Regions from separate parts of the Homo sapiens genome. Here all the other regions are linked to region 1. Evidence: promoter capture Hi-C in 16 types of primary human blood cells and fetal thymus (Javierre and others, 2016). All regions are on one chromosome and are shown on one strand. Each heading gives the region's core, a stretch centred on a gene start or on the middle of the fragment in contact. The rest is flanking DNA. Distances are from core to core; before and after follow the strand shown. Region 1 holds the start of RARS1 (arginyl-tRNA synthetase 1). Region 2 has its middle 6.7 kb from the start of DOCK2. Region 3 has its middle 25 kb from the start of SPDL1. Region 4 overlaps LOC105377714 (a long non-coding RNA gene).

Region 1 (8,000 bases), core at 3,677-6,176:
GTTAGGCCCAGACAGGAGCAGGAGACACCTGTCACATCCTCGGCACCCATGCCTGGGGGTAATTGCTTAGAGGCATTTTGTTTTCTCTTTCGTTTTCTGTAATTTCAGACTAGCTGATAAATTACCCACAATGTTACCACAAGTTACACAATGTGACCCTCACCTATTATCTTCACGTTCCTGGGGTTTGTGGTACAAAGATCAATGTATAGACAAATGATAGCTTATTTTAATGAACCATTGTAAATTCTTGGTAAGCAGCTTAGGAACTGCATCCTAACTTTTTCATCTTTTTTTTAATCTTTAATCCACTTGTAACGGCTGCTAATCGGAGCATATATTCAGGGCAACTTGAATCCATGACTCCCAGGCTGTAGACCTCAACCCTGGCCCAAATAGACTCTCTACTTATATTAATTTTGCTTCAGTTTCTTCCTTTAGGTCAACAAGATGAACAGTCTTCCCAGCTGGGCTATACGTACCTCGGGGTACAGGAAGTCCTGTACAACTTACAAATTCCTATATGCTCTCACTTTTGCCAGTCTCTCCACCTGGGCTAGTACCCAATTCCCCCCTTTTTTTGGTTGGGAGATTTGGAAGTCCTGTACCCTGAGGTGCATATAGCACAGTTGGGAAGACCCTTCAAAGGGATCTGTGGGCCCAGATATACTAGGGAAATCCTGAATTTTTGTATACTCTTTTCTAAAATTGATTGGCCTGCAAACTCAGTTTTCCAATTCTCCTTTTACATCTCCCCTTCCACAAAGAAAAGCATAGCACCCTTTTCCATTGCCTGTCGTGGGTAGCGACTCTCTGGGGCCCGTGTCACGCAGGTGGTAAAAAGAATTCATCAATACAGTTGTAGGTAAAGAAAGGCAGATTTATTAGACAAAGCAGGAAAGTATGTTGCAAGGGTGCAACAAGCAAATCAGCAAGAGAGGAGCTGACTGCCAGGAAACAAACGTTTGCTCGGGATTTGACAGAATGGTGCTTGGGCTGTGTGTTAAGAGGGCTTTGTGCAGTACTGATAGTGCTGAGGTTGCAGTGAGCTAACTTGCATTTTTCTATCAGCTGAGGTGTCTGGTAATAGCTGGGTGCAGGAAGATGGTGAGTAATTTGCACAGGAGGACTATGTATCCTGAACCACGAAGAAAGGTAGACTTATAGCTTACCTGCCTTTTCTTTTTGCTTTCCTTCATCCTTACCAGCCCAACTCCCCCTCCCTAAATTAGGACTCCACATTGCCTGGGTGTAAACTAACAGGAATTGAACAAGGGACACTTCTAGAACATATTTTTCCTTTTCTTTTTGAAAACACTTTCTTTATATATATATATAGATATATTTTTTTATTATACTTTAAGTTCTAGGGTACATGTGCGCAACGTGCAGGTTTGTTACATATGTATACATGTGCCATGTTGGTGTGCTGCACCCATTAACTCGTCATTTACATTAGGTATATCTCCTAATGCTATCCCTCCCCCCTCCCCCCACCCCACAACAGGCCCCGGTGGGTGATGTTCCCCTTCCTGTGTCCAAGTGTTCTCATTGAAGAACCTATTTTTCCACAGGGCATATCCTTGAGCGCTAAACAAAGAGGGCTTAGTAAAATGATTGACTGTTTTTATTTCCTCCTTTATCTTGAAGATAGAGATCTATCTGCCTATCCCTTTGTCTATCCACCAGCTTGTCCATCCCTCCCTCCATCTTTCTCAGAACTTAGAAATAAGGTATCAGAGTGATGTAACCACCCAGTGGATTCTTCCTGCCTGCTGCACAACAAAATTGACTCATGGGCACCATGGCATTGCAATAAAGAAAGTTTAATTGACACAAGTCTGGCCACACAGTGTAAGAGACGGAGTTATTACTCAAATCAATCTCCCTGAAGGCTCCTAGGTTAGGGGTTTTTCAAATATAGTTTGCTGGGCAGTGGGGTAGGGTAGGGAACATGCTAACTGGTTGAGTTGGAGATGAAATCATAAGAAATCGAAGCTGTCCTCTTGTGCTGAGTCAGTTCCTGGGTAGGGGCCACAGGACTGACTGGTGGGTCCAGGTGGGGCCACCCGGTTGTCAGAAATGCACAAACCTGAAAAGACATCTCAAAAGGCCAATCTTAGGTTCTACAATAGTAATGTTATCTGCAAGAGTTATTGCAGAAGTTGCAAATCTGACCTCCAGAATAATGGCTGACAATTATTTAGAATTCAAGTCCCTCTCATTCTCATAGTTTAGTTGCCTTGCATTAGTTTTACAAGAACACTTTGATTTTGGGGAAGGGCTAATATCATTTCAACTATAAACTAAATTTTCCACAAAGTTAGCTTGGCCCATGCCCAGAAATGAGCAAAGACAGACAGCCTGTGAAGCAAGATGTCAAATTTCTCTTACTGTCATAATTTTGCAAATGCCATTTCAGGAACATGCACAGTAGTCCCCCCTACTTATGTGCTCAAGATATTAAGTGGAAAATTACCAATTCATAGGCTTAAATAACCAATTCAGAAATAACCAATTCATAGGTCTTAAAATGCATGCCATTTCTTGGTAGCATGATGAAATCTCCACCGTCCCATTCTGTCTTGCCCAGGATATGAATCCCCCCTTGCCCAACAAATTCATGCTGTCTACACTACCCACCCATTAGTCACTTATTAGCCCTCTGAATTACTGGATTGAAAAAACATAGTATATATATAGGGCTTGGTACTATTCACGGTTTCAGGCATCCACTGAGGGGTGTTGCAATGTATCTCCCACGGATAAGGAAGGACTGGTATATTAACACTTTTATTTGATTTACAAAATAAAGGATAGTTTATATAGTTCTGGGTAAAATTAATTAATTAATTTAAAAGGAAAAAAGATAAAGGCAAACTTTAAGCTTGTTAAAAATTAAGTAAAATAATTTGGATTATTTAATTGGACAAAGAGGACTGGCTTTGCCAATGAAACAATATGGCCGACATGTTCCATAAATTGGACAAGCTAAACTTGCAAATCCACAGTTTTGACGAAAATATAGTGAGAGCACTTATGAAACATCATGCCAGAAAATAATCCATTCCCAGAAGTTGTGAAAAGAGTTTTTAGATGTCTTTTTTTTTTTTTTTTTTTTTTTTTTGAGACAGAGTCTCACTCCGTTGCCCAGGCTGGAGTGCAGTGGCCAGATCATGGCTCACTGCAACCTCAAACTCTTGGGTTTAAACAATCCTGCCTCCTAAGTCTCCTATATAGCTGGGACTACAGGTGCACACCACCATGCCTGGCTAATGTTTTGTATTTTTGGTAGAGACGATGTTTCACCATTTTTTCCAGGCTGGTCTTGGACTCCTGGGCTCAAGAAATCTGCCTGCCTCAGCCTCCCAAAGTGCTAGGATTACAGACATGAGCCACTGTGCCTAGCTCGATGTCAACTTTTAAAAGTATACACTGGGATATGAATTTTTAAAATACTTTTATGAGGCACGGAAGCGAAAACGTTTAGAGTGCTACTTTCTAAGTTCTGGAGTCATAGAGAAGAGTGAACAAGATAATTAAGGTCCCTGCCCTCTTAGAACATATATCCCAGGTTTGCTGTTTATAATTTTAACTCAATATATATACAATGAAATATTATTCAGCCTTATAAAAGAAAACCCTGTTATGGGTGACAACATAGATGAACCTGGAGAACATTATGTTGGTGCAATAAGCCGGGCACAGAAAGACAAATACTACATTAGCCCATGTATATGTGTAATCTAAAAAATTCAGATTCATAGAAGCAGAGCATAGAATGGTGGTTGTCAGGGCTTCAGAGGTAGGAAAGATGGGAGATGTTGCTCAAAGTTACAAAGTTTCAGTTAGGCGGGATGAATAGATTCTAGAGATGTAATGTATATTGTATACTTGCAGTTTTCGTTTTCGTTTCGTTTTGTTTGTTTTTAAATAGAGAGAGAAAAGGTCTCACTCTGTCATCCAGGCAGAGTACAGTGGCATGATCATGGCTCACCGCAGCCTCAAATTCTTGGGCTCAAGTGATCCTCCCACCTCAGCCTCCTATATACCAGGGACTACAGGCACATGCCACCATGCCCGGCTATTTTTCCATTTTTTTGTAGAGACGAGGTCTTAGCTGTTTCCCAGGATGAGAATAGATCTTAAATGTTCACAGCACACACGCGCGCGCGCGCGCGCGCACACACACACACACACACACATGCAAATGATAACTGTATGAGATGAAGGTTATGTTAATTATTTTGGTTGTGGTAATCATTTCAGAATGTATACATATATCAAAACATTACGTTGTACATCGTTATGATATACAATCTTTGTCAATTATACCTCAATAAAACTGGAAAAATAAATAAGATTTTAACTCAAATGTCACTTGCTTAGAGATGTCTTCTCTCACCCAAGTCACTCTATCACATTGCCTTCCTAGCAATTAAAACTACCTGAGATTATTGCCTTTTTTGGTCTATTTTCTCTCTCCATTCTAAAATGTGTCTGCCGTGAGAGGGGAGATCGTGTCTGTTTTGTTTTCTTTGTGCCCCCAGAGCCTAGAATACTGTCTGGCATTTTAAAGTACACAATAAATGTTTGTTGAATAAATGAATGGATTTGTTAGTTTTGTGCCCATTTCACAAAGGGGCAAAGTGAGGCCTTTGAGAGCCAGAAGCTCTAGGTCAGTGACTGTCCTAGTCTATCCAAGCACAGAGCAGCTCTGGTTAGTGTCTGCTCAATTCCTCTCCCCTCGCCCAAACGTCCCTGAGTTGCGGCCTCGCTCCTGACCGAAATCCCCGCGGGTTCTCCTCGCAGTGTCTACTGGATCCCGCCAGGAGGCAGCAGAGGCGCCAGCACCCAGTCCGACGGGACAGCGGACCGGAGGGGGTTTCCGCTTCCGGGAGAGGCTGACCGTTTCCGCTTCCGTCCACTTGGCGAGTGAGACGCTGATGGGAGGATGGACGTACTGGTGTCTGAGTGCTCCGCGCGGCTGCTGCAGCAGGTTTGGACGCAGGAGACCGGCGGGAAGGCCTGAAAGAGATGGAGCAGGCTCTGACTCCTGCCCAAGCGGCTTCGGGGGCGGGACAGCTAGGCGAGGACCATCCTGGTCCTCTCAGAGTGGAGCGGCACGGTCCCTGTGGGAACAGGAAGGGTTGAGAGAGGAAGCACCCATCATTTCAAAGCCCGTGTGACTGTGATTTTCAGCGGAATGGAGGGTCCCCACCCTCTCCCAGGCCTCCCCCAAACCAGCGTCTTCGGTGGGCTGGAGCCTGGCATGTTCAGAACAGTTCTCTCCCTACAATCCACCTCCTCTTCTGCATACACACGCGATTTAGGGGATGCGGGGAGATAGACAAGGGGGGAATACATTCAGAGCTCTGGGTCTTGGTTTGCAGCTCAGCCGCAGTTCTTCCCGGGTTACTGAGCGAGAGGATTCCTAATAAGCCCATGGGGTGATTCATTATCAGACCAGCGGAGCTTGCTCTGTGCCCTCAGCATTCGTCGGGAAGGAGCAGCCACACCATATAAAAGTGAAAGCGGCCGGGCGCGGTGGCTCATGCCTGTAATCCCAGCACTTTGGGAGGCCGAGGTGGGCGGATCACGATGTCAGGAGATCGAGACCATCCTGGCTAACACAGTGAAACTCCGTCTCTACTGAAAATACAAAAAAACTTAACCGGCTGTGTTGGGGGGGGTCCCTGTATTCCTAGCTACTCGGGAGGCTGAGGCAGGAGAATGGCGTGAACCCGGGAGGCGGAGCTTGCAGTGAGCAGAGAGCACACCACTGCACCACAGCCTGGGCGACAGAGTGAGACTCCGTCCCCCTACAAAAAAAAAAAGTGAAAGCGGAACAGTTCCATTACCTTTTATGCCCAGGTGGGGAGGGATGGTAGGAAGATAGTTCACAGTACTCTGTCCTGTTACGGCTGTATACTTAATCAGCAGTCACAAAGTACAAGTTAGTCAAGTAAATTGGCAAGCTCTTTACATTTCTGAGCCATTTATTTATCGGTATGTATTTATCTTTGCCTCACTTGGTTGTGATAATCATGAAGGTAATTTCTGAAAAGTGTTTTTAGCTCAGCTCCTGGAACATAATGTATGCTCATTTTTGGCAATTTGGTTTTGGCTGTAGCTATCTCCCAGTAAGTATTCTGAAATTTCAGGTGAGGAACTCCCCCTGAGTTTTGCAGTTTAAGTTGGAAGCTTTATTTCTTTCTGAATTGACATGTCTTTAGTTTTAGATGTTAAACTACAAAGCCTGGTCTGGTCTAGTCTAGGACCTAAGACACTGGAAACAGGAAGAAATGGGAAAATTGTTTAGTCCCAGAAAGGGTGAAAGGCAGACCCTTGAGCTATTTTGAATGTGACAAAGGACATTTGGGTTTTTTAAGAGTCCCAGGTCATAGGATTTGGGAATAAAAGCAGGTTGGTCAACCTGAAACTTAACTACTCTTGCTAAATCAGAGTGTTTATCGAGCCAAAGAAAAGAACTAGGGATATGAGACATGAGGCATATCCCATTATATACTTACTCCGATTCCTGTCTCCCAAAACACATGTATGTGTGGTTAATATATTCTTTTTCTTTTTCTTTTTTTTTGAAACAGAGTCTCGCTCTGTCAAGCAGACTGGAGTGCAGTGGCACGATCTCGACTCACCGCAACCTCAGCCTCTGGGATTCAGGCAATTCTCCTGCCTCAGCCTCCCAAGTAGCTAGGATTACAGGCATGCGCCACCATGCCTAGCTAATTTTTGTATTTTTAGTAGAGACAGCGTTTCGCTATGTTTGCCATGCTGGTCTTGAACTCTTGGCCTCAAGTCATCCACCTGCCTAGGCCTCCCAAAGTGCTGGGATTACAGGCGTGAGCCACCATGCCTGGCCAATATTTTCTTATTAAGGATAATATGCTAACGTCAGCAAAAATCTCAGAGGAGAAAGAAACACAGCTCATCAAAGGGAACATTAATGATTCCCATGGTCTATGCCACGCCTTGGTAGAGAGGGGAAATGTGGAAGTAAGTTTATGGACTGAAAAAAGTGCTTTTTTTCCCACAGGAAGAAGAGATTAAATCTCTGACTGCTGAAATTGACCGGTTGAAAAACTGTGGCTGTTTAGGAGCTTCTCCAAATTTGGAGCAGTTACAAGAAGAAAATTTAAAATTAAAGTATCGACTGAATATTCTTCGAAAGGTGAGTACTTTGGGTTCCAGTTTTATTCTCCAGTTTGAATCATTATAGCTTTTTTAAAGCCTTTGTTACCAAAGATTCTGGAAGTATATCCTATGGAATTTGGAAAAGAAGCATAGAAACCCTATTCTTTTCCCTGCATTAGACAACTTAGGACTGAGGTAGTTGGTGCAAATAGTGACAAGTTGGTGTTGTCCTGTCCTTCAGGACTCTTTGAAATGTTTCATCCTGCTAACTGTTTGGCTAACTTAAAGTAGGATTTAGGTAGGGTTGAGGCATTTCTTTTTAAAAATTTATTTATTATTTTTTGAGACAGGGTGTCTGTCACTCAGGCCAGAGTGTGGTGGCATCATCACGGCTCAGTACAGCCTCAACCTTCAGGCTCAAGCAGTCATCCCACCACAGCCTCCTGAGTGGCTGGGACTACAGGCGTGTGCCACCACATCCAGCTAATTTTTTTTTTTTAATAGAGATGGGGTCTTGCTGTGTTGGCCAGGCTGGCCTCGGAATTCCTGGCTTCAAGCAACCCTCCCTGTCTTGGCCTCCCAAAGTGTTGGAATTACAAGTATAACCTACTGCACCCAGCAAGGTTGAGGCATTTCTTTCAACAGTTTATGCCCATGCCTTTTTTAAAAAAACATGTTTGATTTTTAAATCATTGCCTCTATCATAAAGGAAATATTTGAAAATACACCTGCATATTTTCTCTGCCCTAAGTTGGTTATTTTACAGTTTTATATCTTACATAATCATTTGGGGTTTTTTCCACCTGGTATTTCAAAACACTTTTTTTCCCCATGAAGCTTGTGCT
Region 2 (8,000 bases), core at 1,877-4,376, 1.1 Mb after region 1:
ACTCTGATCAGTCAGCAGCCATCAACATTGAGGCAAGATCCTCCACCAGCAAAAACAGTTATGGCTCACTGAAGGATCAGATGATTGTTAATATTTTTTAGCAATAAAGTATTTTTAAATTAAGGTATGTACATTATCTGTGTTCATAGACATAATGCTACTGCCACTTAATAGACTGCAGTATAGGATAAACATAACTTTTATATGCATTGGGAAACCAAAATTTTGTGTGACTTGCTTTATGTTGCAGTAGTCGAGAACTGAACCTTCAGTATATCTGAGGTATGTCTTTATTTTCCAGACTTCTTTGCAACTAGATGTGGGCATGGGACCAATTCTTGCCCAAAGGAATGTGAGCAAAAGTGTTGAGTGCTATTCTGAGCCATGCTGTTATTTCCCTCTAACTCCCTTTCTGCTGACTGGAATGGAAATATGGTGGTGAGTCATTGTGGATCATGCACATAATGATTGTGAACCTGGGGGATAATGGAATAGCAAGAAAGAAGGAGCCTTCACCCTTCACAATGTCATAGAACTGCAATACCAACTATGCAGAAAAGAATTGGACTTCTATCTTATTTTGGCTACTTTATTTTTGGGTCTTTGGCTTTGGCTGCCTACTTGATCTACATATTCATTTCCTTGGTAGGCAAGTCCTATGGATACCATCTCTGAAATATATTTTGCATTTGACTGCTGAGCCCCTACCATTTGGTCCAATCCACCATCATCTTTCCCTGGATGCTGAACCACTTACTGGCCTTGTTACTTTCATTCTTGACCTATAGAATTTGTTTTCTAATTGAAATAATTTTTTAAAAAGATTATATTACCTCCTGCTTAAAATCCTCTAGTGACATTGTCAATGCCTTCCACCTAAAGACCACCAGCAATGCACCTGCAGTAAAAAAAAGTTGGGTTTATTGCTTGTGGCTGCATACCATGGGGAGTCCTGGGGTGTTCCAGTAAGAGTATGTTAGAAGGGACTTTACTATGGATAGGTCTTGGACTTGTGTTATGTGATTTGGGGTAGTGTTTAAGAAGGCAGTGTTAATTCTGTGATTAGGTAACTTAATACATCTCATCTAGAAGAATGGAAGACTAGAATGAGGCTAAGCCTGAAACTGATTAAAAGGAAAAATCAGTAGTCATTCACGTTAGCCATGACAGAATAATGACATCTGGTCATTTTTGGTTTGGACAATGTTCATGTTTTGTCTATGATCACTCATGGTTACAGAGTTGTCTTATTTTTGTCTAGATTCGTCACAGTCACAGGCTGGCGCTGCCTGATGTTGATGTTCAACATGAGAAATTGTTCATGTTCAATAGGAGAATATCACAGCCTACCTGTAAGGGCCTAGCCAGCACCTGACTGTCTTTCTCACTTCCCAGTACACTTATAGTAAAATTCCAACTCTTTAGTGTGATCTTCAAGGTTTTATGTAATTTGGTTCCTATCTAACTTCCAACCTAAATTTTACCACATGGTCACTGCACACCCATGACACAGGCCATTTTTGGTTTCTTAAATACAGTAAGCTTGTTCTCCCATTGGGATCTATACAAATGTGTTTGCCTCTCCCAGGAACATGTTTTTCCCAAGGGTCACTTTTTAAAAAAATATTTTTACTTAAATTCTGGGATACATATGCAGAAGGTGCAGGTTTGTTACATAGGTATACATGTGCCGTGGTGGTTTGCTGCACCTATCAACCTGTCATCTAGGTTTTAAGCCCTGTATGCATTAGCTATTTGTCCTAATGCTCTCCCTCCCCTTGCCCTCCACCCTAAGACAGGCCCCAGTGTGTGATGTTCCCTTCCCTGTGGCCATGTGTTCCCATTGTTCAACTCTCATTTATGAGTGAGAACATGTGGTGTTTGGTTTTCTGTTCCTGCGTTAGTTAGCTGAGAATGATGGCTTCCAGCTTCATCTATGTCCCTGCAAAGGATATGAACTCATTCTTTTTTATGTCTGCATAGTATTCCATGGTGTATATGTACGACATTTTCTTTATCCAGTCTATCATTGATGGGCATTTTGTTTGGTTCCAAGTGTTTGCTATTGTAAATAGTGCTGCAATAAACATACATGTGCATGTGTCTTTATAGTAGACTGTTTTCTATTCCTTTGGGTATGTACCTAGTAATGGGATTGCTGGGTCAAATGGTATTTCTGGTTCTAGATCCTTGCGAGGCTGTGAAGAAATAGGAACACTTTTACACTGTTGGTGGGAGTGTAAATTAGTTCAACCATTGTGGAAGACAGTCTGGTGATTCCTCAAGGGTCACTTTTTAACTATTACTTTCTCAGACAGCCCTTCCCAGACCATCCCCTTTTCCACTCTCCCACAGTACTCTTTATACAATTTATTTTCTTTATTAAAATGTATTATGTACATGGATTTTCTGCCTTCCCTTCTAGCCTACAGGATTGATGAGAGTGGCAATCTTGTTTGTGTTGTTCCCCAAGATATATCCTCAGGACTTTTCACATGATGAGTTCTCCATAGACGTTTGTGGAATGAAGGAGCACTCAGCCTCTAGGAATGGGTGGAAGTCCAGTAAAGCCACAATTACAACATGGCATGCAGATGTGTATTGGACTTAGAGAAGAGATACACCCAGATGACTGGAGGCTTATTGCTAGAACATGAAGGCTTATGAGGAATCTATTGTCTCTTTCTAAACCAGATAATTGATTTCTCCAAAAAATCAAGAGATTGAGATTATTCAAGAGGCGCTCTTGGCTCAAGTAATTTGCTTTCTGCAGTAATGTCTACTATTTATACTTCTGAAATGAGAAGACCTAACTGGGTTGGTTTGCTATCACCCAATACAAAGCCTCCTTATTGGCCAGAAACTGTTGGCCTTTCTCGTTTGTAATACACCCACCAAGGTCTCAACTCAGTGTCTATGGGGACTAGGCAGGTAACTTAAATGAATGAAGCAAACTGGGTTTGTTGTTATTATGGCAACTTAAGAAGAACTTGTTCTATGTAGACCTACATCTAAGAATATTCTTCACATCTGTAAATATATACACCCTCTCCCATGTTTCCTGAAACATATATCTTTTCAGTCTCTCTTATTTTCCCACTTTTGATAGAACACAGGGCCAAGCAGTATTTCATTTTTGTTTTTATCTTAAGAAAAACAACTGTGTAAGCACAATGGTAAATAGCCATTGAAATTTGGCCTCAGCATTGGAGATTGTGGCAACTAGAGTGCATGTTCAAACTCAAGGACAGCTGCTGAAGCTGCCTCCAGCTGAAACTGCCTTGTGGAAATGCAGTGTCTACATTTATTTAGAGAGAGACTAGAAATCTAGAAGTTCAGGTAAAATCTCTTGATTGTTAATTGCTGGCAATTTTTAAAAACATTAAAAACTGTAAAATAAAATATGCTTGTTAAACAAATATGTCACCCTCCAGATTTGGCCTTTGGACTGCTAGTAGTTGGCCCCTGTCAAATATCATTGTTTCTAGATGAGTCAGTGCCAACGAGATGTGGAAAAGGAGCAGGGCTGATGTCACTGCACCCAGTATGAGCCTTGGCAGCTTTGCAGAAAGAGCCATTGCGACTACTAGACAGACCAGTAGTTCATGAGCATGGGCTGCCGCAGGAGGGTTGTCTAACTGGAGGGGGAATTGGGAGGTGGGGGGAGTCACCAAGTAAATCTTCCCAGAACTACTTAACCTAGAGGGCAAGAAGAGGTATTCCTATTGGAGGAAGGACTACAGCACACAGAGATCTGAGAATTGTGGCACTTCTAGGAAACTTCAAACAGCACCATCTTGTAAGAGTGTAGGGTGATTGTGGGTGTGGTGCAGGGAGGTGGTGTAAGAAGGGGCAGAGGAGGCAGGAAATGAAGCTGTCGGGGGGAATGATGGCCCTGCATAATATTCTTAAGACTTTTAAATAGTGTGCAAAAGTATTTGAAGGATGCACTGAAAGATATTAATCTGGGCCTTGACGTCTTAGTCTCACAGTTGAGGTAGATCCCACCGGCAGATGCCTACAGCATTAACTAGCAGTGGGCTTGAGGCTATTAACATTTTTAAATATATATACATATATATATACTTTATTTCCATAGGTTATTGGGAAACAGGTGGTGTTTGGTTACATAAATAAGTTCTTTAGTGGTGATTTGTGAAATTTTGGTGCACCTATCACCTGAGCAGTATACACTGCACCCTATTTGTAGTCTTTCATCCCTCACCCTCTTCCCACCATTTCCCCTTGAGTCCATTCTGTCATTCTTATGCCGTTGCATCCTATAGCTTAGCTCCCATTTATGAGTGAGAACATACAATGTTTGGTTTTCCATTCCTGAGTTACTTCACTTAGAATATACTTATGATAGAATAATACTCAGCCATAAAAATGAATGAATTAGTGACATTCGCAGTGACCTGGATGAGGCTATTAACATTCATCTGATAGAGCAAACTCTAGGTAAGCAGGAAAGCTCTTGATTCTCCCTATCGCCAACCCTCACTCCCACAGTCACTTCTAGAGTTTTGTCTGTTACTGAAGGCAGAATTATTTGAATGCCTACTTATCTACATGCCATCTTTGTTGTTGGGCCTCCTTCCTTTACTGTAACTAATTGATTTTGGGAGCGTATATCCTTCTTACCGAGAGTCTTTTATGGTCCTGATCGGAATGTGGACTCCTCTTTGGTGAGTAAAATTTAGGTAAGTACAAGCTTTTGCTCTCGACTGTCTGAGCTGCTGAGAATATACTCGGCTATTTGCCATGACTGTAACAGCTAACACAAGAAGAGACAATGAGAAAAATGTTGACTAGTACTGTGGAGGATGGAGTTTCCAAAGGCAGCCATGTGATGGACACAGGTCAGTGGGACACCAGAAGCCTCTAGGCATCTACCTACTGACGTGCCAATGCTAACTCCGGGTAGCCCTCTCTCCTATCTGGGCCCAGGAGCTCTCTGGCTGGGTGTTGGTGGACTTGTGCAGTAGGGGGCCCACCCCCATGAACTACTCAGAACAAGCTGACAGGCACTGTAGTGACGCAAGAATGGGAGGAGGGCACTCGAATGTCTTGAGATATAGCTATTTAGCAACTGTATGGAAATATTCCAATATTTAGTAATCATTACAGGCATACTAGTGAAATCCAGCCAAATCTTGGACCTGAATACATATGACTCTGAAAAAGATGGACATCAGAAACCTCCCCTTCTGCTGTGCCTTAGGGAAAGAGTTTTCTTCAATTTACCTAAACCATGAGTCCAGTTAGATTTCTTTGGGCTATACTTGAGGCTTTGCATAGTTATTTCCTGTGGAATGTCTTTATTTCACATTTCACAAAAGTTGTTAAACCTCTCACGTTATTACAAACCTGCTTTGCTTATATTTTTCCTAGATTATTCCAGAAGCTTGAGAAGACCAAAACTACTTGGGCAAAGGTTCTCAGAAGTAACATGGAGAAGAGATTGGAAGGAGGCAAGGTTGGAGGAAGGGATCTCTAATCCAAGTTTCAAGGAAGATCTTAAGTTTGTGGGATGGGGAAGAGGGCAGATTCAACAGCTGTTTTTGAGATTATCATTTGGAATGAAAGGAAGATTAGGATGAGTTAAATTTCTGACCCGAGTGAAGTGAAGGGTAATGATGCACTCATGGGCAATCATAGTGGATATTGGCTACAATAAGGGATTTCATTTCTCTGGCCTCAGTTTGCTGATTAGCAAATTGGGGGTAAAATTGGGGTAATAATGGTACCTGTCTTATGGGGCTGCTTTTAGGATGACACGAGATAATGCATGCCAACTGTTTAAATCAGGGATTGAAAGGCAGTAAGTATTCAATGAATGGGGCTCAGAAAGTGTTCAGTGAATTTGCTGCAAACCACAAAGCTAGGTAAGTGATGGAGATGGGGTTCTAGCACCTGATTAAAGCACAGTCTGGTCACTTCATCTGTTAACATTGGGTAGAAACAGTCAGAAGAGGGACAAGTCTAGGGTACAGTTATGATATGAGCTTGGTTTTGAAATATGGAGACATTGATGGGGCTGGGAGGGGATGTCTAGGAGGTAGTTGGACACACAGGACTGAACTTAACAGAAATCTTGGCTAGAGATGTCCTTTTACCCACAGTCATCCCTCACAATGTATGTGAAGTTATAGTCATCAAGAGTGTACTACCTAATAGTCAAGTAACTGACAGATGGTGTTTAATAAAATTGTGTGACCAAGATTATTGTAAATTCTTTAAGTGGTTTTAGTCAGATTTTTATGTTTGACTATTGATCTCTCTTGCCAAAAAATTTTTATGATGCCATAGGATTGTTAACTGTAATGAAAAGCCCATATTTCAGAAACATAAAAGCCATCTCCTAACCATATGAAGTTTAAAGATTTCTGCACTAAAAGCCACCCCATTAAGAAGTTAATTAACCCTCAGTCAAAATTTCTAAACTTCATCTCCTTCAACTGAAAGCAGTTTTTCAACTCTTTTAATATGCTGAATTTGTTTGTTTAACATTATTTAAGGAAGAGATTCCTATTATAGGTTGTGTCACAAGTTGAATGGGGAAAAAAAAACTTCAGTGCTCCTCAAGTTCAATCTTATTTGCTTTCTGGCACCACCACCTACTCTTGGCCTCCCATCAGATACTTTACCACACTGTTAATGTGAAGTTGCCTGTTTGTATGTCAGAAGCTTAAACCTAAATCGAAAAAAAAAAAAAAAGTGTATTTTAGATCAACTGGCTACAAGTTTATGAAGACAACACAACTGTGTATAGCAGAAGATAGCAAACTGTGGTTCACAGATCAAATCTGGCTTGTTGCATGTTTTTGTATGGCCCATGAACTAAGACTAGTTTTTACATTTTTAAACTGCTGAAAAATATCAAAATAAAGATAACATTCCATGCTATATGAAAACTGTAGGAAGTAAAAATTCCATTTTATGGGAACACAGCCATGCTCATTCATTTATGCATCATTTATAGTTGTTTTCATTCTACAATGGCAGAGTTGACTATTTGCAACAAGGACTGTGTATGGTGTTTTCAATGCTACACAGTGCTCTCCAGCAACCCACTAATCACGAGGATGAGATTACAACTCCACAGCATTTAAAGTGCATATCTCTCTCTATGGTAACATTTAAAAAAATTACCAGTGCTATAGCCACCATGTCAAAAAGAAAAGAAAGAATAGTGGGCTCCAAATGTCATGCTTCTAAGGCACAGTGGAGTGTGTATTGTTTGTTACCAAATTAAATAGCACTATGGTTTAAATGTGACCCCCCCCAAAGTTCATGAGTTGGGAATTTAATCCCCAATACAGCAACAGTGTTGGAAGGTGGGGCCTAATAAGATGTAATTAGTAGATCATGAGGGCTCTGCATAAATAGATTAATGTTGTTATCGTAGGAGTGGGTTAGTTATTGAGGGAGTGGTTAGTTATTGTGAGAGTGGGTTTGTTATAAAAGTGAGTTTGGGCTTCTCTTGCTCTCTGGCTCTTGCCCTGTCACCTTCCACCACGGGATGGCACAGCAAAAAAATGCCCTTGCTGGATGTTGGCCCCTTGATATTTAACTTCCCAGCCTCCAGAGGTGTGAGCCAAATAAATTTCTGTTCATCATAAATTACACAGTCTGTAGCATTCTGTTATAGCAGCACAAAACAAACAAAGCAGAGGAGAAAGCATTGTGTTTATTACATGTTGACACTCCAAACAATATAATAGATTAAGCACTCATCACATCTTTTCCAACTTACACAAAAGCAATGACAAGAAAAATTAGAAAATTTAAAACAGAATATCTCATCACAGCACAATTTCTTTAAAATAATAAAAAGTGAAAATGAGACTACAACCAGAATAAGTTTCCAAGTGGCTTATTTGTTATGCAAGCAAGGCAAAATATTTTATTGATGTTAAGTTCATTAAATCATGTTTGATTATAGCAGCAGATGAAATATATCCAGTGAAAATAAATTAGTTTAAGACTTTTAGCCT
Region 3 (8,000 bases), core at 1,432-3,931, 1.1 Mb after region 1:
GGCTACATGGCAAAACCCCATATCTACAAAAAAATACAAAAAATTAGCTGGGCATGATGGTGCACACCTGTAGTCCCAGCTACTCTGGAGGCTGAGGTGATAGGATCATCTGAGCCCAGTAAGGAGGTCGAGGCTGTAGTTGAGCTGTGATCATACTACTGCACTCCAGCCTGGGCAACACAGCAAGACCCTGTCTCAAAAAAAAGTGGGGGAAATAAATAAGAGGAAAAAAGAAACCTCAGGAATTCTTAATTCCCTTATGTATAATTTTATATATAATTTTATGGTTAATTATATGTACATATACAGATGGTCTCTGACATAACAATGGTTTGACTTAATGATTTTTCGACTTTTCAGTGGTACAAAGACAGTATGCATTCAGTAGAAACTGTACTTCAAGTACCCATATGACCATTCTGTTTCTCACTTTCAGTACAGTACTCAATAAATCACATAAGATATTCAACACTTTATGACAAAATAGACTTTGTGTTAGATGATTTTGCCCAGTAGTAAACCAATGTAAGTTTTCTGAGCACATTTAAGGCAGGCTAGGCTGAGCTATAATGTTCATTAGGTTAGGTGTATTAAATGCATTTTTGACTTAATATTTTCAACTTATGGGTATATCGAATTGTAACCCCGTTGTAGGTCAAGGAGCATCTGCATATATACATACATAGATGATAGATAGATAGATAGATAGATAGATAGATAGATAGATTTAATTCTAAACTTTCCAAATACTCTTTCATTTAAATGATTATAGTTTTACAACAATTTCATATATTCTATAGGTAGGAGAATTAGGGTTTTCCAGAGAAATAGAACCAATAGGATGTGTGTGTATATAAAGATTTACTTTCAAGAATTGGTTCACATGGTTGTGGGGGCAAGTCCAAACTTGTAGGGTGGGCCAGCAGACTGGAGACCAGGGAAGGGAAGAGCTGATGAGTTCAAGTCCGAAAGCCATCACACTAAAGACCCAGGGAGATAACTGCCACTGCAGTTCAAGTTCAAAGGCTGTCTGCATCAGAATTTCCCTTTGCTGGGGTAGGTGAGTCTTTCCATCTAGGACTTCAATTCATTGGATGAAACCCATTCACATTAGAGAAGGCAATCTGCTTTAAGTCCACTGATTTAAATGCTGATCTCACCCAAAAACATCCTCACAGAAACGTTCAGAATAACACTATAAAGCAATTAGACCTAAAGAAATATGTAGCATACTCCACCCAAAGGAGAATACACCTTCTTAAGTGTACACAGAACATTGTGCAAAACAGACCAATGTTATGCCACAAATCTGGTCTCAATAAATTTTAAAAGTTGAAAAAGTATCTCGACTACAATGGAATGAAATTAAAAATCAACAACAAGAAAATCTGGAGAATTCACAAATACTATGTAGAAATAAAACAATACACTCTTTAAACAGCAGATGAATCAAAGAAGAAATCACTAGGGAAATATTTTGAAGATGAATTTTAAAATATTTTAAAATGAGTGAAAATGAAAACACAACAATAACAAAACTTGTTAAGTGTAGCGAAAGCAAAAGCCCTCAGTGGGGAATTTATATTTGGAGATGCCTACATTTTAAAAAAGAAAGCTCTCAAACTAATAACCTAACTTTATACTTTGAGGAACTAAAACAAGAAGAGAAAACTAAAAAGCTAAATCCACGGCCAGCAGAAGGAAGAAAATAAGAGATGAGAACAAAAACAAATGAAATTGAGAACACGAAAACAATGGAATCTATGGAACCTAAAGTTTGTTCTTTGAAAAAATCAAAATTAATAAACTTTTAGCTAGACTGATCAAGGAAAAAGGAGAAAAGACTCAAATTACTAAAATAAGGAATGGAAGTAGGGACAATACTGTCAATCTTATAGAAGTAAAAGGGGTTATGAGAGAACGCTATAAACAATTACAAATTATGTATACTAGATGACATAGTCAAATTCCTAGAATCAAACTACGAAAACTTATTCAAGAAGAAATAAAAAAAAAACTCAATAGAGCTTTAAAAGAGGGAATCAAATCAGTAATCAAAAAAACTTTCAAAAAGAAAAGCTCAGGACCAGATGGTTGCACTAGTGAACTCTACCAAATACTTAAAAAAGAGCTTATCTTTCTAAAACTAGTATGTCTCAATCTCTTCCAAAACATCAAAGGAGATTATTTCCTAACTAATTCTATGAGGAAAGTATTGTCCTAATTCCAAAGCCAAAGACATCAGAAGAAAACTACAAACCAATATCCCTTATGAATATAAATGCAAAAAATCTATAAAAAAAATACTAGCAAATTCAATCCAGCAGCATACTGAATTATACACCATGACCAAGTGGGATTTGTCCCAGGAATGCAACGGTAAATTAAAACAGGAAAACCAATGTAATATACTGTATTAGTTTCTGGTGAAATGAATTACCACACATTGAATGGCTTAAAACAATAAAAATGTACTGTTTTATAGTTCTGGAGGCTAGAAGTCTGAAATCAAGTTGTTGGCATGGTCTTGCTCCCACTGAAGGCAATAGAGAAGAAATATTTCCCTACTTTTGGTGGCTCCCAGCAATCTTTGGCATTCTTAGCCATCACTCCAATGTCTGGCTGTCTTCACACAGCCCACATCTCCATCTCTGTGTGTCCTCTCCTCTTCTTATAAGGACACCTTAACTAAGTATGATCTCATCTTGATCCCTAACTAATTATATCTGCAAAGACCATACTCAAAATTAGGTCACATTCTGAGGTTCTGAGTGGATAAATTTTGGGGGGATAGTATTTGAACCAATACACACACCATAGTAACAGAACAAAGAGGGGGAAACACCCCTGACATGATTACCTCAATTGACACAGAAAAAGCATTTGAAAAAATCCAGTATATGTTTATGATTTTTAAAACACTCAACAAACTGGAAATAGAAAGGAACTTCCAAACTAATTAAAGGGCATTAATGAAAAAAATAATGAAAGTATGAAAAAATCATACTGGTAAAAGACTGAAAGCTCTTCCCGTAATATCAGGAACAAGAAAAGGATGTCTTATCTTGACACTTATATTCAACGTTGTACTGAAATTGATAGCCAAGTCAGTTAGACAAGAAAAAGAAACAAAAGGCATCCAAATCAAAAAAGAAGGAGTAAAAATATCTATATTCACAGATGACATCATCTTTCACATAGAAAATATTAAAGAATTCTCCAAAAATCTATTAGAGCTAATAAATGATTTCAGTAGTTGCAGTATACAAAATCAACATATAAAAATCTAGTTTTCTTACACACTAGCAATGAACAATTAGAAAATGAAATTAAGAAAATTATTTAAGCAGCACCAGAAAGAACAAGCTCTTAGGAATAAATTTAACCAAGGAAGTGAAACTTTAACACACTGAAAACTACCAAGTATTATTGAAAGAAGTTAAAGACCTAAATTAATGGAAAGATATCTCATGTACATGGATTGAAAGACTTAATATTGTTAAGATGGCAATACTTTCTGTCTTAGTCAGTTTGGACTGCTGTAGCAAATTATTGTAGACCGGATAGCTTAAACAACTAACATTTCTTCTCACAGTTCTGAATGCTAGACAGTTCAAGATCAAGGTGCCAGCAGATCCAGTACCTGCTGAGGGCTCACTTTCTGGTCTGCAAATGGCAATTTTCTTGTATCTTCCACATGCTGAAGAGCAGAGACAGAGAATAAGTTTGTGTGTCTTTTTATAAGGGCACTAACCCCATTCATGAGGGTGGAGCCCTCATGATCTAATTACCTCCCAAAGGCACCACTTCCTAATGCCATCACATTGGGAGTTCGTATTTTGAAATATGAATTTTGGCAGGGGATACCCAAAGTGATCTACAGCTTCAATACAATTCCTATCAAAACCCCAATGAAAACGTGATTCTAAAATTTATACAAAATTGCAAGAGACCCCAATAGCCAAAACAATCTTGAAAAAAAAAAAAAAGAAACAGAGTTAGAGGACTTACATGTTCCTATTTAAAAACTTAGTAAAGAGACAAGAAACGAAACAGTGTGGAACTGGCATAAAGATAGACATAGATAATGGAATATAATTGAGAAATAAATGAGACTATAAGTAAATCAGAAATAAACCTATACATGTATGATCAATTGATTTTTAACAATGGTAGCAAGACCATTTAATGGGGAGAGAAGAGTTTCTTCAACAAATGATGCTGGAACTACTTGATAACCACATGCAAAAGAATGAAGTTAGACCCTTACATCACCTCATATGTAAGTATAAGTTCAAAATGAATCAAAGATCCAAATGTAAGAAGTAAACTATAACACCCTTAATAGAAAACATAAGGCTAAATCTTTGTTACTTGGATTTCACTATGATTTCTTATATATAACATGAAAAGCACAAGCAACAAAAGAAAAAATAGGTAAAATGGTCTTCATCAAAATTAAAAACTTTTGTGCATCAAATGACACTATTTAGTGGGTAAAAAGATATCCCGCAGAAGGGTGGGGAGCAAGATGACAAATAGAAGGCTCCACTGGAACACCAAATTTAACAACTATCTACACACAAAAAAAGAACCTTCATAACAACTAAAAATCACAAAAATCAGGTGAGCACTCAGAGTACCTGATTTTAGCTTCATATTACTGAAAGAGGCACTGAAGGGGGTAGGAAAGACAGTCTTGAATTGCTGATTCCTCCTCTCTGCCATCCTCCACATGGCACAGAGAAAAGGATCTGTGTGCTTGGGGAGGAAAAGCACAGCAATTATTAGACTTTGCGTTAAACTCAGTGCTGCTCTGTCACAGTGGAAAGCAAAACTAGCGTAACTCAGCTGGTGCCCACCCACAGAGGGAGCATATATACTAGCTCTAGCCAGAGGGGAGTTGCATATCCAAGCAGCCAGAACTTGAGTTCCGACAAGCCTCACCACCAGGCTAAAGTATTCTGGCATCCTAAGTCAACTTGAAACTCAGACTAGGTCACAAGGACTGCAACTCCTACGTGAGTCCTGCTGCTGAGCAGGACTCAGAGCCAGTGGACTGGGGGGCACATGACCTACCAGGACACCAGCCAAAGCAGCTAAGGGAGTGCTTGCATGACTCTCCCCCAGCCACAGGCTGTAGAGTTCAAAAGGCTATCAGCAGCAAACCCAAGTTTTTACACAATGAATTATTTTTAAAATAGCCCAAAAAAGGATATTCAACAACACATTAAAAAGTTCATTCATCATGACCAAATGGGATTTATCCCTGGGATGCAAGAATGGTTCAACATACACAAATCAATCAATGTGATAACATTTTAGCAGCAGAATGAAGAACAAAAATTCAATTCAATTGATGCTGTAAAAACATTTGATAAAAGTCAACATATCGGCCGGGCGCGGTGGCTCACGCCTGTAATCCCAGCACTTTGGGAGGCTGAGGTGGGCGGATCACCTGAGATCGGGAATTCGAGACCAGCCTCAACATGAAGAAACCCCATCTCTACTAAAAATACAAAAAAAAAAAAAATTAGCTGGGCATGGTGGTGCATGCCTGTAATCCCAGCTACTCAGGAGGCTGAGGCAGGAGAATTGCTTGAACCTGGGAGGCGGAGGTTGCGGTGAGCTGAGATCGCGCCATTGCACTCCAGCCTGGGCAACAAGAGTGAAACTCAGTCTCAAAAAAAAAAAAAAAAAAAAAAGTCAACATATCTTCATGATAAAACCCTCAAAAAACTGGGCTTAAACCATAGCTACGGCAAACAAACACAGCCAAAACCCTAGCCAGATAAACAAAAACTCATCACTTCGTTTTACTCAATATATTAGGTTTGGCTTTCAAAAAAATTTACAAGGCATACCAAAAGGCAAAAACACACTGTAGAGAATCAAGCAGGAATCAGATGCAGACTCGAATATGACAGGAATTTTAGGTGATCAGGTCAGGAATTTAAAATAACTATGACTAATATGCCCAGAGCTGTAATGGAAACAGTGGACAGCAGTCAAGTATGGATGGGTAATGTAAACCAAGAGAGAGAAACTCTAAGAAAGAATCAAGAGGAAATGCTAGAAATCGAAAACACTGTAGCAGAAATGAAGAATGCTTTTGATGATTGTTTTTGATGATCAAAGGACTGGGCATGGCCAAGGAAGGAATCTTCAAGTAAGCTTGAAGATATGTTAATAGAAACTTTTCAGACTGAAAAGAGAAGAACAAATTTAAAAAAAAAAGAATATCCAAAAACTGTGAAGCAATTACAAAAGGTCTACATTTCATTACATGTAATAGGATTAGTAAAAGAAGAAGAGAGAGGAAAAGGAACAGAAAAAATATTTAAAATAATAATGGCTAAAATTTTTCCAAAATTAACAGCAGATACCAAACTACAGATCTTAGAAGCTCAAAACAACACCAAGAAGGATAAATACTAAAAAATCTACAACTGCATGTAGGTTTATCATATTCAAACTTCAAAAAATCAAAGACAAAAAAAAATCTTAAAAGAAGCCTGAGGGGGGGGAAAATACCTTACTTAGAGACAAATGAAGATAAGAATTCTATCAGACTTCTATTCAGAAACCATGAAAAGACTTGCTTTAGATATGCGGGCTCTTTTTTGGTTCCATGTGAATTTTAGAATTGTTTTTTCTAATTCCATTAAGAATGATGGTGGTATTTTGATGAGAATTGTATTGAATTTGTAGACTGCTTGTGGCTATATGATCATTTTCACGATATTGATGCTACCCAACCATGAGCATGTGATGTGTTTCCATTTGTTTGTGTCATCTATGATTTCTTTCAGCAGTGTTTTGTGGTTTTCTTTATAGAGATTTTTCACCTCCTTGGTTAGGTATATTCCTAAGTTGTTCTTCTTTTTCTTTTTTCTTTTTTTTTTTCAGTTATTGTAAAAGGAATTGAGTTCTTGATTTGATTCTCAGCTTGGTCCCTGTTGGTATATAGAACAGCTACTGATTTGTGTACATTAATTTTGTATCTGGAAACTTTGCTGAATTTTTTTTATCAGTTCTAGGAGGTTTCTGGAGGAGTTTTTAGGGTTTTCTAAGTAAAAAAAATCACATCATCAGCAAACAGTGAGTTTGACTTCCTCTTTACTGATTTGGATGCCCTTTATTTCTTTCTCTTGTCTGATTGCTCTGGCTAGGACTTCCAATACTATGTTGAAGAGGAGTGGTGAGAGTGGGCATCCTTGTCTTGGTCCAGTTCTCAGAGGGGATGATTTCAACTTTCAGTATTATGTTGGCTGTAGGTTTGTCATAGATGGCTTTTATTACATTGAGGTCTGTCCCTTGTATGCTGATTTTACTGAGAATTTTTATCATAAAGTGATGCTGGATTACGTAAAATGCTTTTTCTGCATCTATTGAGATGATCGTCTATTTTTGTTTTTAATTCTGCTTATGTGGTGTATCACATTTACTGACCTGCGTATGTTAAACCATCCCTGGTGTGAAACCTACTGGATCATGGTGGATTTTCTTTTTGATATGTTGTTGGATTCAGTTAGCTACTATTTTGTTAAGGATTTCAGCATCTATGTTCATCAGGGATATTGGACTCTAGTTTTCTCTTTTGCTTATGTCCTTTCCTGGTTTTGGTATTAGGGTCATACTAGCTTCATAGAATGATTTAGTGAGGGTTCCCTTTTTCTCTATCTTGTGAATAGTGTCAATAGGACTGGTACCAGTTCTTTGAATGTCTGGTAGAATTCAGCTGTGAATTGTCTGGTCCTGGATTTTTTCTTGGTAGTAATTTTTAATTATCATTTTAATCTTACTGCTTGTTATTGGTCTGCCCAGCATATCTAATTTTTCCTGATTTAGGCTAGGAGGGTTGTATCTTTCCAGGAATTTATCCATCACTTCTAGGTTTTCTAGTTTATGTGCGTAAAGGTGTTGATAGTAGCCGTAAATAATCTTTTGTATTTCTGAAGTGTCCATTGTAATATCTCCTGTTTCATCTCTTATTGAGC
Region 4 (8,000 bases), core at 2,747-5,246, 1.1 Mb after region 1:
AGTGCTAGAGGGGAGAGAGACAATGAGCAAAGAACAGAATCGATAAAACAATCACCAGATGATGGTAAAAGCCAAGAAGAAACTAAAATAGGTGATGTCATAGAGCGACTGTGGGACTGCATCAGATTGAGAGATCAGGGAATGTGCCAATGAAGGTAACTTATGAGCTGAGACCTGAATCACCAGTGTTTAGGATATAGCTCTATGGTCTAATTTTTCAGGTCATTTTATGATGTGGCTCCTTCATGCACATTTAAATGAAGTGATTAGAATACACACCTGGTGGATAGGGTTCTATATTATACCCTCAGCTACCTCCCACTTCCTTTTTAAGCTTCATTCTAAAATGACATTTTAAAAATGTAAGTGGCAAAGCTAGACCCATTAGCTATAAGTGATATAGAAATCCCAAAAAGATGTTCCAGCAGGGATTGAGCTGGCCTTTTAGACAAAAATAATGAGGTCATTGCTTTGTTGACTGCCATCGACTTGCATATCTCAGCCTCTATCAGTGACCAAAATCATCCAACAAAATGACTCCTTAAGTGCTTATGATGAAGAACAGCTACCAGAACACCCAGGCAAGCATTCTTACACTCATATCTTCTGTGAATCCATCAGCCAGCAGTTCCCATGCTCAGGGTAAGGAGCAGACATATTTCTTGTCAGTAAGTTTATCTATTGAGATGCTGTGGAATGTTCTTATCCATCATCTTGTACATCATATACCATAACTCTTATGGCTTATGACTTGTAGACAACACAAATAGCCACCTGAAGGTGTCCTCATGCAAAATTTTGCTGTTGAGAAAATAACCACTAGTCTTATAACCCTGTGGCAATCCTTTATTCTCCCTAAATACTAATTTTTGCATGTCAAAAAAAGTTAAACAGATGAACTCTAAATTTGAATTTTAGTCTTTTAGATTTCCTAAAAATGATTCAAACAATATTTCCTTGCAAGGGAAGATATAAAACATTTGCTTGAATTCAAGAAAGAGTAATATCTGAGCATTTTGAGCACTGTATCCATTGGGCATATGCATGGCTGCAACTAATGAGAAAGTAAACAGTGGCTTCAACAAATAAGGCTTTATTTTTCTCTCGTAACAAGCAGCCTGGAGGTAGACTTTAGCTGGCTTTTGCTCAGCAGCATCACAATGTTAGGGTCAGCATATCCCTTGCCTATTCCTTGCCTATCCCTTGATCTTTCCCTTATCTTGTCACCTCAAGTTCACAAACTGGCTGCCGCAACTGCAAAAATCATATCCTCATGACTGACTGAAGAGCTGGAAGATTAGTAGAGGCAGGAGGAGTGCCATCCAGGTTTATCTTTCTATATGGGGAAAAAAAAAAGTATTTTATAGAAGCTCCTGCAGCAGCCAACTCCTTTGGTTTCATGTGTCATATGACCAACTCTAGGTCCAAAGTGCCTATGACTTTGCTTCTCCAGCCTGAATTGTGGAAATCCCAGTCTTTTCTATGGTTTTTGGGTCAGCCAAGAAACCATGTCTACCACAATAATTTCTGTATTATATCTTCATATCCCTACACATCTCCTTCATTACACCTCCCAGGATAGTTATCTAGGTAGGGTTTGACTAAAATACGGACATAGAGCCAACATTAAACTATTGAGTAACTGAGATTTTTGAAGGCACTGGCTTATAGGAAATGTTAGCAGGAAAAACCAGTACCAACTGAGTCAAACAGGAAAGACTGCCTCAATGTTTGCCAAAATACATTAAGGCTAGCAGTTGGCTGATTTTCAAAAAATATATTTTCTAATTGTAAAAGAAATATAAGCTTATTTAACAAGAATTTTTGATTGTAGGGAATCATAAAAAGAAAGTGAAAGTCATCTAAAAGTAACTCCCTACATATTTGGTATATTCCCTTCAAAACATTTTTTGTAAGCGTTCTGCACATTTTCTTCCTTTCTCCACTCTGTTCTTTCCGTAACTATGCTAAGTTCTTCTGAAATCTGCTTTCATCTACCGAATATATCCTCGTTCCCTCTGCATATGGTTGCTGTGTTATATCCCATTATGAAGTATCATTGTTAAGAACACAGATCACCCCAGACCATCTGGGTGTCACCCCTAACGTGACCACTTATCAGCTGCATAACTTCTTTGTGGTTCAATTTTGTCATATTTAAGATGAGATAATAATACTATCTATGTACAGGATTGTTGTGCAAATTAAGCTAGTTAATCCTTGTAATGCACTTAGTAGAGTGACAGGCAAATAATAGAGCTCTATAAATGTCAGCCAGTTTTATTGTATGGAAATATGTCAACTAATTTTATTAATCTTGAATTGGTAGATATTCAAATTATCTTAAAATATTTGATTTGATAAATGGCCCATCCATTAATATCCTTGAAAATACATCTTGTCAAATAATGTCCTAAGGATACATTCCCTCAAATATAATTGTTGGGCCAAAGGATATCCACACTTTAAATTTTGACAATTAATTTCAAGCTGCTCTTTAGAAAGCTTGTTCAAAGCCATGTAGGAATTGCCTGTTTTTGGGTAAAGGAAGGTCTATTTTCCCATTCTAGACATTAATTTTTGCCAAACCAGCAGTGAGAATTCTCATTACTCTTTTAATTCACGTTTCTTTAATATGTAAAAAGGTTTAAAATTTTCTAAGTGTTTTTTAATCATTCATATATACATTGAGATGGAGTTTGGTTCTTGTGGCCCAGGCTGGAGTGCAACGGTGTGGTCTCGGCTCACTGCAACTTCCGCCTCCCGGATTCAAGTGATTCTCCTGCCTCAGCCTCCTGAGTAGCTGGGATTACAGGCATGCACCACCACGCCTGGCTAATTTTTTTGTATTTTTAGTAGAGACGGGGTTTCACCATGTTGGCCAGGCTGGTCTCGAACTCCTGACCTCAGGTGATCCACCCGCCTCAACTTCCCAAAGTGCTGGGATTACACACGTGAGCCACTGCACCCAGCCAATCATTCATATTTTTAATGAATCATTTGATTGTGTCCTTAGAGGCTTAATGGATTTTTTGTTGTAGGGGTCAGGTGACTTATATGCCCTTTAAATTAAAGAGTCCAACAGCAAAAGGGAGTCTGACAATATTCCAAACATTTCTTTTTGCATTCTCAATGACTGCTACCAAATTTTTCTCAGTTTGAAAGAAATAGCTGGTTAAGAGGAATTTTCAGCCTTTGTGAGATGTGCATCTGTTTAGAAAAGTCTATGAAAAGGGAATAGTAAAAAGATGTGGGGAAAAAAAACAGAAGAAAGCTATTTTAAATGAGAATGAGTTACTGAGTTATCTATTTGATCATTTTTTATTTTGATTATATTCGACTTATTATTTTGACATGCCCTGAATTGTCAAGGAGAAAAAATGAGACTACTGTTTTGCTAAGTATTCCTGGTATGCATCTTTGTGGGGGTATGAATCACATAAGTCAACTTTTCAACTTTCCTAGGACCACTTGCCTCAGCATCACTCAAAGAGCTTAAATATCCAATTCTGGAATTTAATCCTCCAGACACTAAAGATGAGTCTTTAAAGATATATCCCAGATAGCTCCATCTTGTAAAGGCCCTTTCTAGGAGATTCTTACATGCACAAATTTTGAAAAAAAAACTTTGGAAAATACCCATTTAGTACCTTCAGTTCATTCGATTGTTCATCCATTTGTTCAAAGAGTAATTAAAATAATTACTGAGCACCTACAATGTGCCAGCCACTGTTCTGGAGATGGAACAGTGAATTAAGCCCATGGTCTAATAGGGCTTACATTATAATGAAGGAAGTCAAACAACAACAAAAACATGCATTGTTATGCAAGGTGGTAAGTGCTATTACAAAGACTAAAGCAAAGTAAGAGGAAAGACAGTGATGTGGGGTGGGTACTACTGTAGGTTTATTAATAATCTATGACTTTCATTTGTCTCTTTTTTTGAACAATAAAGTTACTTTAATATCAATCTTAGAGGCATTCCAACTTCTCAGTTCACCTGAGTTTGGGGCTGCCTCTCTTGTCCTCAACATATTCTTGCTTCCTTCCACCTTCACCTATTCCTGGAGACCTCTGGCCCTATGGGGTATTAGCAAGGTATAGACTCAGTGGCCAAAGGGCTAGCCTTCTCCATCAATAGGACCATGAACAAACTAATGTGTGGTAAATAAAGAGCCTAGACAGCAATCAAGCAGTGATAAAATATGAACCAAGGCAATATTTACAGCCTACCTATGCCAATAAATTATCAACTGAAATCTTCAAGAAGCACACAGGCCAAGACATGGTGGAAGGATCCAGCACATTGGACAGCGCCAGTAGCATGGTAAGGTACAGCTGCGGAGGTCCTGCTGGCAGCTGCCAACTAACTTCCTGAGCATTATATTGCTCAATGCTTGGGTTAAATGAAGGTCAAGGGGTGGGAGGTGGAAGAATGAACCCAGAGCTTCAAAAGACCCTGAACCAAATCTGGTTAAACCAAGCACTGCTCAAGGAGGTTTTAGACCCTAAACCTAAAATGCAGCCAGAAACCCATACCAACAGTTACTCCTCTTTCAGAAGTAGCTGCAACAGCAACAGCAATGGAAATAAATATCTGGCAAACAGATTATTTGGCAGTTAGAGTTGAGTATGCAATTTTGGGTATACAAGTAGAGGTCTGCTCAAGTAAGACCAGAGTTTATTCTCCTCCTTCTCCTTCCCTTTCCTCCCCTCCTCCTCCCACTCCCTCTCCTCCTCCTCTTCCTCTTCTACTTCCTTGTTTCTTCTTCTTCCCTTCTTCTTCTCCTCCTCCTACTTCTTCCTTCTTTCTTCTTCTTTCCTCTTTCTTCTTCTCCTCCTCCTACTTCCTCTTCCTTCTCCTTCTTCCTCTTCATCTTCTTCTGCTTTCTTCATCCTCCTCCCTCTCTTCTTCTCCTTTTTTTTTTAAGAGACGGTCTTGCTCTGTGGCCCAGGCTGGAGTACATGGAGTGCAGTGCCACAATCATAGCTCACTGCAGCCTTGAACTCCTGGACCCAAGCAATCCTCCTGCCTCAGCCTCCTAAGTAGCCGGGACTACAGGCATGCACCACCACACCCAGCCAATTAAAAAATTTTCTTTTAAGGAAAGGGGTCTTGCTATGTTGCCCAGGCTGGTCTTGAACCCCTGGGCTCAAGTGATCCTCCCACCTAAGCCTCCCAAGTAGCTGGGATTATAGGCTTGAGCCACAGCACCCAGTAGAGTTTCTTAACTGGTATCCATGCACTGGCTAGTCCATAAACCCTATGATATAAGCAAGCCTCTCTCTCTCTCTCTCTCTCTCTCTCTCTCTCTCTCACACACACACACACACACACACACAATCTATAGGTAGATAGAGATCTGTGTGTGCGTGTGTGTGTGTGTGTGTGTGTGTGTAGCAAGGGGGCTGTGTACATGTACATTATTTTTTCTGGGAAGAATTCTTATAGATTTCATCAGATTCTCAAAGGAGACTGTAACCCAGTAAAGCTTAGGAACTATCATCTTAGACCAAGGATCAGTATCCTTTAGAACTTGAGCTGGAATATATAATTCAGCCACAGAAGGCTCTTGGTTAGAATGAATGTCATGGAATACTACTTCCACACAAACCCCAGCTACTGACACTCACCCTCAGGGTTATAAAATGTCTCATGCCTTGTGAGTTCAGTCCTTTGGACAGGAAGCTAAAAGTTTCATGTTCGTTATATATAAAGATCCAGGTTAGGGATTTTAAAAAACACATTACTATGTTAGCTAGCTGTCACTGCACGGTAAACCACTCAAAATTTAGTGGTGTTATTTACTTATGAATTGGTAATGTCAGCAACATGGATTAGGTTCAGCTAGACGATTCTTTTGCCTAGGAATTACAAGGCATGGGTTTAGAATCCCACATTATTTTTGCCACATTCATTAGTCAAGGTGCATTACAAGGCCAACCCAGATTCAAAGTTGTTGAGAAACAGACTACTTCCTCATGGGATGAGCTGCAAAGTCACACTGCAAAGGGGCTGCTCATGGAAGAATCACTGCGGTCATCTTGAAAACAATCTTCCACAGCTACATGCTGAAGAATTCATAGTTAAAATAATGTTATCTGTGATTTGCTTGAAAACATCCCAGAAACAAAAACTGGTGGGAAAATAATTGAAAGAAAAATGGCAAAAAGTGATCATTGTTGAAGCTTGATGATGGGCACATGAGGGTTATTTACATTAGTCTTTTTACTTTTGCATGCATTTGTAATTTTTTAAATTAAAAGGTTAAAATTAAATTAACAAAACACATGCTCTCTATGAATCCTTGTAACAATTATCTTTTCCCCTTTTACATGTGTGGACAGTGAATAGGGGGCAGTCATGTGACTGGTCATTTCTAAGGTCACTCATAGAATAATAGCTAATATTTACTGAAGACATAAAATGCACCAGCGCCTTCCCAACATTGTACATCATATCTCATTTAGTCCTCACGATACTACGCATCAGGTAGTATTATTGTCTCCATTCCTAAGATAAGAAACACCAGAAAGCTGACCAAGTTTACAAAATAAGTAGTGAAAGCCTGATTTGGATCCAAGAAATGTGGCTTCAAAGCCTCCACCCTATGAGGAGCAAAGCTGAGATTAGAATCAAGCTCTGTATGGCTCCAGCAGCAGGACCTCCCACTCCACGGTGCTAGGCTGGGACTTTCAGAGCTGGTGCTTCCCACGTCATTTTCCTTCGCTATACTGCCTGTCTGAATTTCCCTTCCCAAATTTGCACATTGCACATTAATACTGCACACTCAGTAGGGATCTGACTAAGTGGCCCACTTAGGGGCCCACTTAGTGGCTCACTTAGTCAGTAGGGATCTGACTAAGTGGCCCACAGCCCACTTCCCATAGGTGGAACACCTCTATTTTCTTCTACTAAATATATAATATATCTGTAAGTGCTTTATAAACTGTAAGGTAATTTGAAAGGTTCACTTGTTCTACAAATTAAGTAGCATTTTAAATGAACAACTAGTTGAAAAATTATTTTTAAGACTCTCCAAAGAAGTTAAATCTTGTGGTAAAGCTCTCCTTTGGAATTGTCCTTACCAACATCTGCAAGTGCAAGCGCGTTTTCGTTCAGGGTGAGAATTGTAGGTGAGAATCATCATTGTAGGAGGAAAAGCAAGAAGATTCATGAAGTGGGAGTTTGGGCTATCAAAGTTTGTTTCCAGGAATGACCTAAGAAGAACCAACTGGGAGCAGCTTGGGATTTTTCATTTACTCTTCCTTCAGAGTGAAGATACTCTGTGCTACTCCTAAATGCTCTCCTGTCTATGTGTTAGAGCCTCAGCCACTCCAGCCTGAGGCTGTAGCTTGTCACTCCCGACTCTGAGGAAGTAAGAGAGACAATGTACCAAAATACTCAGCAGGAAAATCAGAGTGGAGGGATTTCACTCCCATGTTATACGAAATAGCACTAGGCATTGCCTGAAAGGATCCTTTGTCCAACCCCATCAGCAGCAACACCACATCCCAACTGCAACGGAGAGGTCTATAGATGCAGAGTCGAAGTGTGTGCGTGTGTGTGTGTGTGGGTGTGTGTGTGTGAATGGATTCATGACTTATTTAGAAACATACCAAAACTTAAAAAGAGAACGTTTGCTCTAAGAGTTAGTTACTGATACAAAGCAAAGTGACAGAATATTTTATTGAGATTCAGAATAAAAATCGTTCTTCCGGGGTCCTATGTATCTTTTTGTAAGATAGGCTTGTGTTCCTTCCATAATAAAGGGAAAGTAAGTAAAATGGTGTCTTCCACACGTACAAGACTTGTCAACAGTCTTCTCCCAAGCATCCCAGCTGTCCAGAGGACATTAAAGGACTGAAGACATTAATTGATTGATAACATGGAGCTATGCAGTGCTTTCCAATGCTTCATCTTTCTAAGAAATCAAAATTAAGGAGCATGAGAAAGCAGAATCAGCTAATTACAAAACTTAACATTATATAAAAATATA

The links. The method cuts DNA at HindIII sites, captures the fragments that hold promoters and counts their contacts. A CHiCAGO score of 5 or more calls a contact.
Region 2: a fragment that was not itself captured here is called in contact with the fragment with the promoter of RARS1 in region 1 in 3 of 17 cell types (total CD8 T cells, naive CD8 T cells and activated CD4 T cells); the score reaches 7.6 in total CD8 T cells.
Region 3: a contact is called between a fragment that was not itself captured here and the fragment with the promoter of RARS1 in region 1, in 1 of 17 cell types (naive CD8 T cells). The highest score is 5.4, in naive CD8 T cells.
Region 4: a fragment that was not itself captured here is called in contact with the fragment with the promoter of RARS1 in region 1 in 1 of 17 cell types (naive CD8 T cells); the score reaches 6.3 in naive CD8 T cells.

Annotation. Positions count from the first base shown.
Region 1 is chr5:168,481,545-168,489,544 of GRCh38, forward strand. RARS1 (arginyl-tRNA synthetase 1) reads left to right here and starts at 4,927. Exons shown (of 15, transcript NM_002887.4): 1 at 4,927-4,999; 2 at 7,058-7,192. The coding sequence starts at 4,955. RefSeq lists an enhancer at 77-186. The HindIII fragment of the contact is 3,317 bases long and covers 2,886-6,202 here.
Region 2 is chr5:169,626,538-169,634,537 of GRCh38, forward strand. No RefSeq gene overlaps it. Among named protein-coding and RNA genes, the nearest start is that of DOCK2, 6.7 kb to the right of the region's middle. The HindIII fragment of the contact is 3,172 bases long and covers 1,541-4,712 here.
Region 3 is chr5:169,604,886-169,612,885 of GRCh38, forward strand. No RefSeq gene overlaps it. Among named protein-coding and RNA genes, the nearest start is that of SPDL1, 25 kb to the left of the region's middle. The HindIII fragment of the contact is 6,981 bases long and covers 1-6,172 here.
Region 4 is chr5:169,562,957-169,570,956 of GRCh38, forward strand. The region is part of intron 2 of LOC105377714 (a long non-coding RNA gene); the gene reads right to left. Among named protein-coding and RNA genes, the nearest start is that of SPDL1, 17 kb to the right of the region's middle. The HindIII fragment of the contact is 2,987 bases long and covers 2,504-5,490 here.